Regions from separate parts of the Homo sapiens genome. Here region 1 is linked to region 2. Evidence: promoter capture Hi-C in 16 types of primary human blood cells and fetal thymus (Javierre and others, 2016). All regions are on one chromosome and are shown on one strand. The core of a region is centred on a gene start or on the middle of the fragment in contact, and the rest is flanking DNA. Distances in the headings are between cores, read along the strand shown.

Region 1 (3,958 bases), core at 760-3,259, 490 kb after region 2:
CCCTTCCACGGGCGAGCTGTTACAGAGCCGCGTTATCACCCCCATTTACAGAAGGGAAAACTGAAGCTCCCAAAGGAAATCCCTGCCCAGGGTACAGAGCTCGCTCTTGCCTGCGTGTTCCAGGAGAGCGGCTCTGGCGGCTCTCCGGAGGAAGCCCTGGACCTGGAGGGGAGGGAGTGCACACCCGTTTCCCTCCATACCAACTGCATTAGGAAAACCACCCAAACTGTGGGCTCAGAACCAAGCTGTAGGTTTGCATAGTAATTTGCGTCATTTGCATAGAGCGCGGAGGCTGCGGCGCTCCCAGGCCATTTCGAGCCGGAAAAGTTCCCGAAGGAGCCCCGCTCCCTCTCCCGGTTCAACTGTCCAGCCCCCTCTCCCTACCCCTCACCCGCACCCCACCCGCATCCTACCCCGCCCCCGCTTCCAACTCCTTGCGCTAAGTTCCCGCACCTCGCCCCACCCCCCGCTTTGACTCCGGTCCTGCCAGCCCCGACCTCCATCCCAAGGCCGAGGGCCCCCTCTGCTGTCGTCCGCGGGTAGGGCAGCCGCAGAGCTCATGGGGCAGAGAAGAAGGGCTCCCCCAACCGACCATCGCCCCACCCCTTCCAGTCCAGCAGGGGCCAGGGTGAGGCCTGTACATGGGTGGACTTTGCGAAGGGGTGAGCAAAGAGCGGGTAGGGCCCTTCTGGCCCCGGGGCGAAGGGTGGGGTTCTAGAGAGGTTCTCTCCTGGAAGCCAGGCCCCTTTCCCCACGCTGGGTTGGTTGGCCCTGGCAGCTGGTTCCCCCATCAGTCCGCAGATGCAGCTCTCTCGAGGTACACCCCACATGAAACGCTTGACAGTTGCAGTTGCTGTTAGAAGCTTGTTCTAGGCCCAAGGCAAGGCAGCACCGTCCAACCCTAATACCAGTCTCCAACCCCACCCTGAATGCCCACCACCAAGGCTAAGACCTTTGACATTTTCTAACACCAGTCTCTGGAATCTGGCAAGAGATACAGAGAGGAGTCACCCAATCTGGATCTCCTGACTTCCTCAACAGAGACCTACACACAGGCAGGCCATGAAACTCACACAGATACTCTCACATGCTTGCAGGCACACTAGTGCACAGAGATCCCTGAGAAGCACATAGACAGAGACTCGGAGGGAATATGGTGAAGGTATGTACTATCCTTCCCCATCTAGTCAAAGGAAAAAAAAATCTTAGTATTAACTGAAAAATTTAAAGTCCACTGCAACTTGCTTATCTTTTCCTCTCTAGCAATCTCTTGATGTCTGATGTCTGTGACCCTCCAAAAGGCTCTGTCCATTTCTCTCTCCACCCCCAACCTCGGTCCTACTTTCTTTCCCACCACCACCTCTTCCTCCTGGTTCAGAATACTTGCAAAATGCTTCCAGAAACCACCGTGGCAATAGCTGTGCCCTGGGGCGCAGTGATGGTTCAGGACCTCAGACCAGCAATGAGCAAGGCTGCACATTTGTGCACAAGACACTCACTGACACACCCACTCAACCCACATCTGACCAGGACCAGGGGCTCTCCTGACCAGCTAGCAGATGCAATCCCAATTTTACCAAATTCTTTATTGAACAAAAAATCAACAGCAAACATTGTCAAACAGGAAGTTCAAACAGGGCAGGTGGGTAGGGCTGACCATCCTCTCCTTGCAGTCCCACCTCTCTCTGGAACAGGCTTCAACACTAGTGAGGGCATCAAAACCCCTGTTCTGGTGGGTAAGGAGGGTCAGGCCTTTCTAGGGAAGGGACACTCAGAGCCAGCTTCATCTGTAGGCCCCAAAGAGGAGTCACGGGCTGGGCCAGGGGGCTCTGGAGCTGCAAGGGCGCTAGACAAACGCTGCAGAGGGCGGGGGATGGAGCTCTTGGTCTGGGGGCACAGTAAGGCTTGGAGCTGGTGACTCATGGTCGCCAGGGATTCGAGGTGCCGGAGCAGGGCTTGGTGGGGACAGGAGTCCCTGTGGAAGTGCTGGCCACGGCCAAAGCCATGACCAGCTGGTGCTACTGAATAGGGATGCTGGGACTGGCGCAAGCCTGGCTCTGGGGGCCACTGCCCTCGCCCAGGATGCTGCCAGTTTTCAGGCTCTGGCCAGAGCCTCCCCCTGCCTCTGGGGGGCCTCTGCCAAGCAGAGATTCCCCTTGGAGCTATACTGCCCCTGCCCTGGCTCTGCTGCCAGGCACCTCCTGGGGGAGGGGTGCCCTTCAGGGGCACATTCGGCCTCCTGTCATCTGGCTGATAGTATCTCTTCTCCACCTTACTGTTGAAGGAGACCATCTTTTGAACCTTCCCCAACCAGGGGCTGGACCCTGCTGTGTCTGGAAGCCCTTCCTTGGGGAGCAGCACAGCCAGCAACAGACTTGAGTGAGTGACCTCCAGACCTGGGGAAAGGAGAGGGGAGACAGGAAGAGCCCAAAGGCCTGCGGGGAAGAACTGTGTTCAGCTTAGCTGCAGCAGATCTGGAGCCTACATCCCAGGAAGGGCTTCTTCACAGTGAGATGGGGCCCATGAGATGCTGGGAAAAGTAAGTAGGAAGGTGGGGCTGTCTCGGAAGATTTGAGCTCTGCGGGATCAAGGCTTATCTGGCTGAGGCTGGGGTATGGATTGTTTGACCTGAAGACTCTACAGACTCAAAGTCTACCTCATTGTCTCAGGACATGGAGCCCCAAAAGGCCAAGCGCTTTGCTCAGGAGTGGGCAAAGCGCCCACTGCCAACCTCGCTGCTTTCCTGAGCCACGCCGTGGAGGGTGTCCATGCACAGAGGCCGAGCTCGGCCCCCCGTGGCTGTGGCGAAACATCCCTCCCTCCTCTCTGAGGTGACATTTACAGTCAAGTGTGTGTAGGTCCTGACTCTGTCCTGCTGCCTGGGTCAAATGTGGCTGTCCCTGGAGTTTCTCTTCAGGGGTGCCTACCTTGAGAGGCAGTGTGGTGTGGTGGTTAGGGGCCAGGTTTCTGAAGCCATGTTGTGCTTCACACAACGTGTGAACAGAGTGAAGCCCAGTTCTGCTGTTGACTGACTGTGTGACTTTGGACAAGTCATTTGCCTTCTTCCTCCCTCAGATTCTTCTTCTATGAGATGGACAGTCTAGTCTAATAGTACCATTCTCATAGGGTGATGAGACTACAAGAATTCATCTAGGTAAAGCTTTTAGAACAATGGCTGGCATGCAGTTCATGATATCCAAGCGTGAGCTATTACTGTCATTGTACTCACATTTGCCTGGCTGGGTGAGGAGTTCCCTTCTGAGATGTGCCTGCCTCTACTGGGTGACTGTGTCAACCGTGCCTGGTCTGGTCACCAAGTGAGCAGAGGCAGGGTCTGGTATGGGGACTAGGCACTCACCTGGGCCCCCCAAAGGGCGCAGCCTGGTGGGCAGGGGCTGGAAGGCAGGCAGGGGCAGCAGGACCATCCCCATGTGCTCCACAGAGGCCAGCCCGTGGCGCTGCCTATCATTGAGGTATGAGTAGAGCAGGCGGCAGTTCTGGGTGTCCCGGGCCCCATGTGGGCACAGTCTGACCACGCAGACGTCCTGCGGTGGCAGGAGGAGAGCAGCTGTAAGCGCAGTCATCCTCTGCTCCTGCCAACACCCCTGGGCTCCCTGAAACCCCTGAGAACCCCGTGAGAAAGTATGTCTCCATCTTCCAGAGGAGGAAACAGAGGGACCTGTCCAGGGTCACACAGTGAGTCTGCAGTCACTCTGGGAACTAGACCCAGATATCCAAGCCAGGCCTCTGCTCTAGAAGTGGAGAGGGAGGTGGGAGTAAGGTACTAGGAAAAGAGGGGGTGCCCAAGAGTGGGCAGGTACCTTGGCCTTGGCTGGGCAGATGCTGGCCAGAAGGTCCCAGACAATGTTGGAGGGGATGCAGCCTGCCGAGCGGATCACGGTGGGCAGAGCCTAGGGGCAGGAAGGATGGCCAGTCAGCTCCCCAGCTTCCCACCCAC
Region 2 (3,984 bases), core at 454-2,953:
CATGTGCTATAGAGCAAAAGAAGGGATGGGGATGGTGGCTCATGCCTGTAATCTCAGCATTTTGGGAGGCCAAGGTGTGCGGATTGCTTGAGCTCAGGAGTGAAATCCTGTCTCTACAAAAAAATACAATTAGTTAGATGTGGTGGTGTGTGTCTGTGGTCCCAGCTACTCAGGAGGCTGAGGCAGGAGGATCACTTGAGCCCAGGTGGTGGAGGCTGTACTGAGCCAGTGGTCAACACAGAGAGATTGTCTAAAAACAAAAAAACAAAAAAAGAGAGAGAGAGAAGCAATGTGGGTTCCACAGTATGTGGTACTGCAATTTAAAATAGGGTGGTCAGGAAAATCCTCACTGAAAAAATTACATTTGGGCAAATATTCGCAGGAGCTGAATAGTAAACCATGTAAACATTTGTGAAGAGCAATCCCACAGAGAGGACAGCAAATGCAAAGGTCCTGAAGCAGAGGCTTGGAAGAGAGAGTAACTGAAGCCAGGTGAGCAATAAGAAATTGGTCAGAGAGGTAAAGGGAAAGAGGGCAAATAATTACAAGAATTTTGGTTTTTACTCTGGATGAAGTACAAAGCCACCAGAAAGTTTTCTGCAGAGTGTAATGTGATCTGATGTTTAGAAGGATTCCTTTGGTTATTGGCTTGGTAACAGGTGCTGATACAAAGGTAGAAAGTGGAAGACCAGTTAGGGTCCCACTACAAAAATGCCAGATGAGATAATAATGGCTTAGGCCATGAGGCAATGATGGAGATGGTAGAAGTAGCAATTCTAGACCTATTTTGAGGACGGTGCCAGCAGGATTTATTGAGGAGATGTGAGGACACTCGTATTTCCTCGTCTGAGCCTAAACAGGACATTAGAAGTGTGATCACTATTTCTATCTTACAAAAAATGTAGTTAGGAGCATGGTTTCTCAGTTCGAAATCTGCTTCTATCACGTACTTGGTAAGTCTGTTTTTCCATCTGCAAAATGGGTTAATAACGTTCCTAACAGGCTGCTACCAAGATCAATGGAAATTTCATATACGAAACACTTTAGTACAAGAGTCAATGAATGTTAGCTGCTATTTAGTTGTTAATAATACTAGTGCAGAGAAATAAAGGGAAAAGCAACTTGCCCAAAGTCCCAAAACGAGCCAACACAAATCATTTCCCTTTTTTCTTCCCTCCCTCATTCATTCATTCTACACACTCTTCGGAATTTTTGTTCTATGCCAGATCCATGTTAGAGTCAGGATGCTTAAACCCGGGTCAGGGTTTTGAGCCCAAGGTCCTCAACTCTAATTCTAATGCTATCTCAGGGCAGTCGAGAGGCTGAAAACGGGCGCCAAACGGGGGAACACGTACGCAGCATTCGCAGGCTATGGGGAGCTTTTACAGTGTTTATGTGCTTTAACTCTGCGTAGAAACTCTCGTTCTGCCCCCGCAATGCGGGAAAGGGTCAGGGATCACCAGATACAGCGCTCTGAGGGGAGGAAGATGAGCTGAGGGCCAAAGGCCGCCTGCTTCTTCACTTACCGCTTGCAGCAAGGCTCCCGGCGTCGCCTGCTGCTGCCCGGCTCCTGGGCCAGACCCCGCTCCCAACAGCAACTCATGCCGCTGCCGCTTGACTGGAACCAGCGGCAACTCTGGGCCCTTACGCTTCTGCTGTTCTATCATGGCGGCAACCGGTCTCTTCAGCGCCGCCACTGACCGCGCTGCCGCTCTCAGGCGCCACGCAATTGGTTCCAAATTAGTCCTTCCTCCACAACTTCCAGCTTGGAAGAACCAATCGGCTTTCAATATTTCCATTTGCACCGCCCTCGGATAGTCTCTTGTTATTGGGCATATCTTTCTGACGTCATGAGAGTGCGATACCAGGATTGGTGGACGGAGCTGGCGACCGCCCTAGGCGCGCTGGGTCTTGTGGGTGGAAACGCGCTGGCTGACTGGGGTCGGCGTTTAGTTCAGCGCAGCGACTCGGGGACCTGGAGCTGACGCCTAGTACGTATGAGGAAGAACGGGGTGGGTGGCTGCCTGAGTCTGGAGGCGACGCCTCGGTTGTGCAGTCTGAACCTGCCCTTCTCAGCTGAGGGTGCTGACAGCAAGGGGTGGGAGGCGGGCCCCGAGTCCCCAGCTGTGGTAAGTAGTAGCCTGGGCTCCCTTTCGGGGCAGGAGCGGAGCCTTGGGGTCTCTGGCGGCAAGACCCAGCCCCTGCGGCTCCCTTCTTCAAGAGCGCCCATCGTGGCCAGTCCTGTGCCGGGCATTCCCAGGGAGAAAGGCCTGCGTCCCAGCCTCCTCCGGTGCCCCATTTGGCCGAGGAGGCTGACTTGTTTCTGCCACTGATTTTGCAGTTTTTGATCAGGGCCTACTGTATGCCCCCCTGAGAGAGACAGTGATGAAGGAAATGTCCGACTCCTTCTCCAGAGCACAGTCTTGTTGAGAAATTTGAGACTCATGCCCATGAACGTGGTCATTGCCTCAGTCGTCCTGCTGATATTCATTTAGCAGCGCGTTGGGGGTATGTTGTGAACCGGGCACGGTCCCTACTCTCAGGGCGTTTAACTCTGGTGGGGAAAACGTTAAACAATGACCTCACTAATACATGGAAATGCCTCCTACTGCTGCCTGATGCTATGAGTGCCTGAAATAAGCAGGAAGGTTTTTCAGAGGAAAAGATGCCTGCGCTGGTAGCTGCAGGAAGTGTTGTAATTAATTAGGTGAAGAAGTGAAGGCAGAACCTTCCATAGAGAACTACTTGTTCAGAGCCCTGAGGCACTTGGGAGGAAAATGACTAAAAGCACAAAGAGCCAGTGTGGCTGGTACAAAGAGAATGAAGGGAGTATGGTACAAGATGAAGCTGTACGTGATAGCGGTCAGACCTTGCAGGAATTTGTAGCTTTTATTTTAAAACGGATGAGATACCACTGAGCCGTCTTCCCCCAGTGGGGTGTGGTGGAGGAGGGGACTTGATCCCTCAGGCTCAGTGGTGTGAACAGACGGGGGTTGGGGAAGCCCTAGTCGATGTATGTGGACCACTTGGGATATGCAGTAATCCTGGTCAGAGATGTCAGTGAGGACTGAGATATGGGTGGAACTGCAGAGAATTGGACAGATTCTAGAGGTATATAGGAGGTAAAATGGGTGGGACTTGGTGATGGGTTGATTTTAGGGAGTGAAGAGAGGAATCAAAGGTAACTCCTAGGTTTCTGGCTTATGTAGTTGAATAGATGGTGGTACCATTCACTCACTATCACGGAATCCCTCAAGCTGGATAGGGAACACTAGAAGATGATTAGAGACCAGTTTTTTTTTGTTTTTTTTTTTTTTTTGAGACAGGTTCTTGCTCTGTCGCCCAGGCTGGAGTGTGGTGGTGCAACCTTGGCTCACTGCAACCTCCACCTCCCAGGTTCAAGCAATTCTCCTGCCTTAGCCTCCCCAGTAGCTGGGATTACAGGCGCCTCCACTGTGCCCGGCCAATTTTTGTATTTTTGGTGGAGATGGGGTTCCACCATATTGGCCAGGCTGGTCTCCAACTCCTGGCCTCAAGTGATCCACCTGCCTCAGCCTCCCAAAATTCTGGGATTACAGGCCTGAGCCACTGCTCCCAGCTGAGATCAGTTTTTATTGATTGATTGATTGATTGTGTGGGGTCATTCATGACATCCAAGAGGCAGTTTGAAATACAGCTTTGTGCTCAGAAGAGAGATTTGTGTTGGGAATATAAAATTGGGCATAATTTGTATATACATGAATTGAGCCATAGGTGTGGGTAAGGTCAGCTAAGTCAGAACCTTGACTAGTTCCAACATTTAATGGTGAAGAACAGGTGAACCTACAGGAGATACAGAAGAAAGGAAGGAGGACTGGAAGAATGTCTCAGAAGCAAAAGAATGATTTGTGATAGAAATTTCTAGAATTTAAATAACATGAAGATTGAAAAACATATTTTGGCTTTTATCATCATGGAGGTCACAGTAACCTTAGCAAGAGTTAT

Evidence for each region. Contacts are between HindIII fragments. The CHiCAGO score rates a contact against its expected background, and 5 or more counts as called.
Region 1: a fragment that was not itself captured here is called in contact with the fragment with the promoter of SNRNP40 in region 2 in 1 of 17 cell types (neutrophils); the score reaches 6.5 in neutrophils.

The regions. Positions count from the first base shown.
Region 1 is chr1:31,788,857-31,792,814 of GRCh38, forward strand. SPOCD1 (SPOC domain containing 1) reads right to left here. Exons shown (of 16, transcript NM_144569.7): 14 at 3,822-3,911; 15 at 3,359-3,545; 16 at 1,566-2,435. The coding sequence ends at 1,747. Among named protein-coding and RNA genes, the nearest start is that of SPOCD1, 25 kb to the right of the region's middle. RefSeq lists an enhancer at 1-81 and a silencer at 247-536. The HindIII fragment of the contact is 2,297 bases long and covers 862-3,158 here.
Region 2 is chr1:31,295,085-31,299,068 of GRCh38, forward strand. SNRNP40 (small nuclear ribonucleoprotein U5 subunit 40) reads right to left here and starts at 1,704. Exons shown (of 10, transcript NM_004814.3): 1 at 1,527-1,704. The coding sequence starts at 1,667. ZCCHC17 (zinc finger CCHC-type containing 17) reads left to right here and starts at 1,948. Exons shown (of 8, transcript NM_016505.4): 1 at 1,948-1,991. RefSeq lists an enhancer at 1,473-1,682. The HindIII fragment of the contact is 7,877 bases long and covers 1-3,984 here.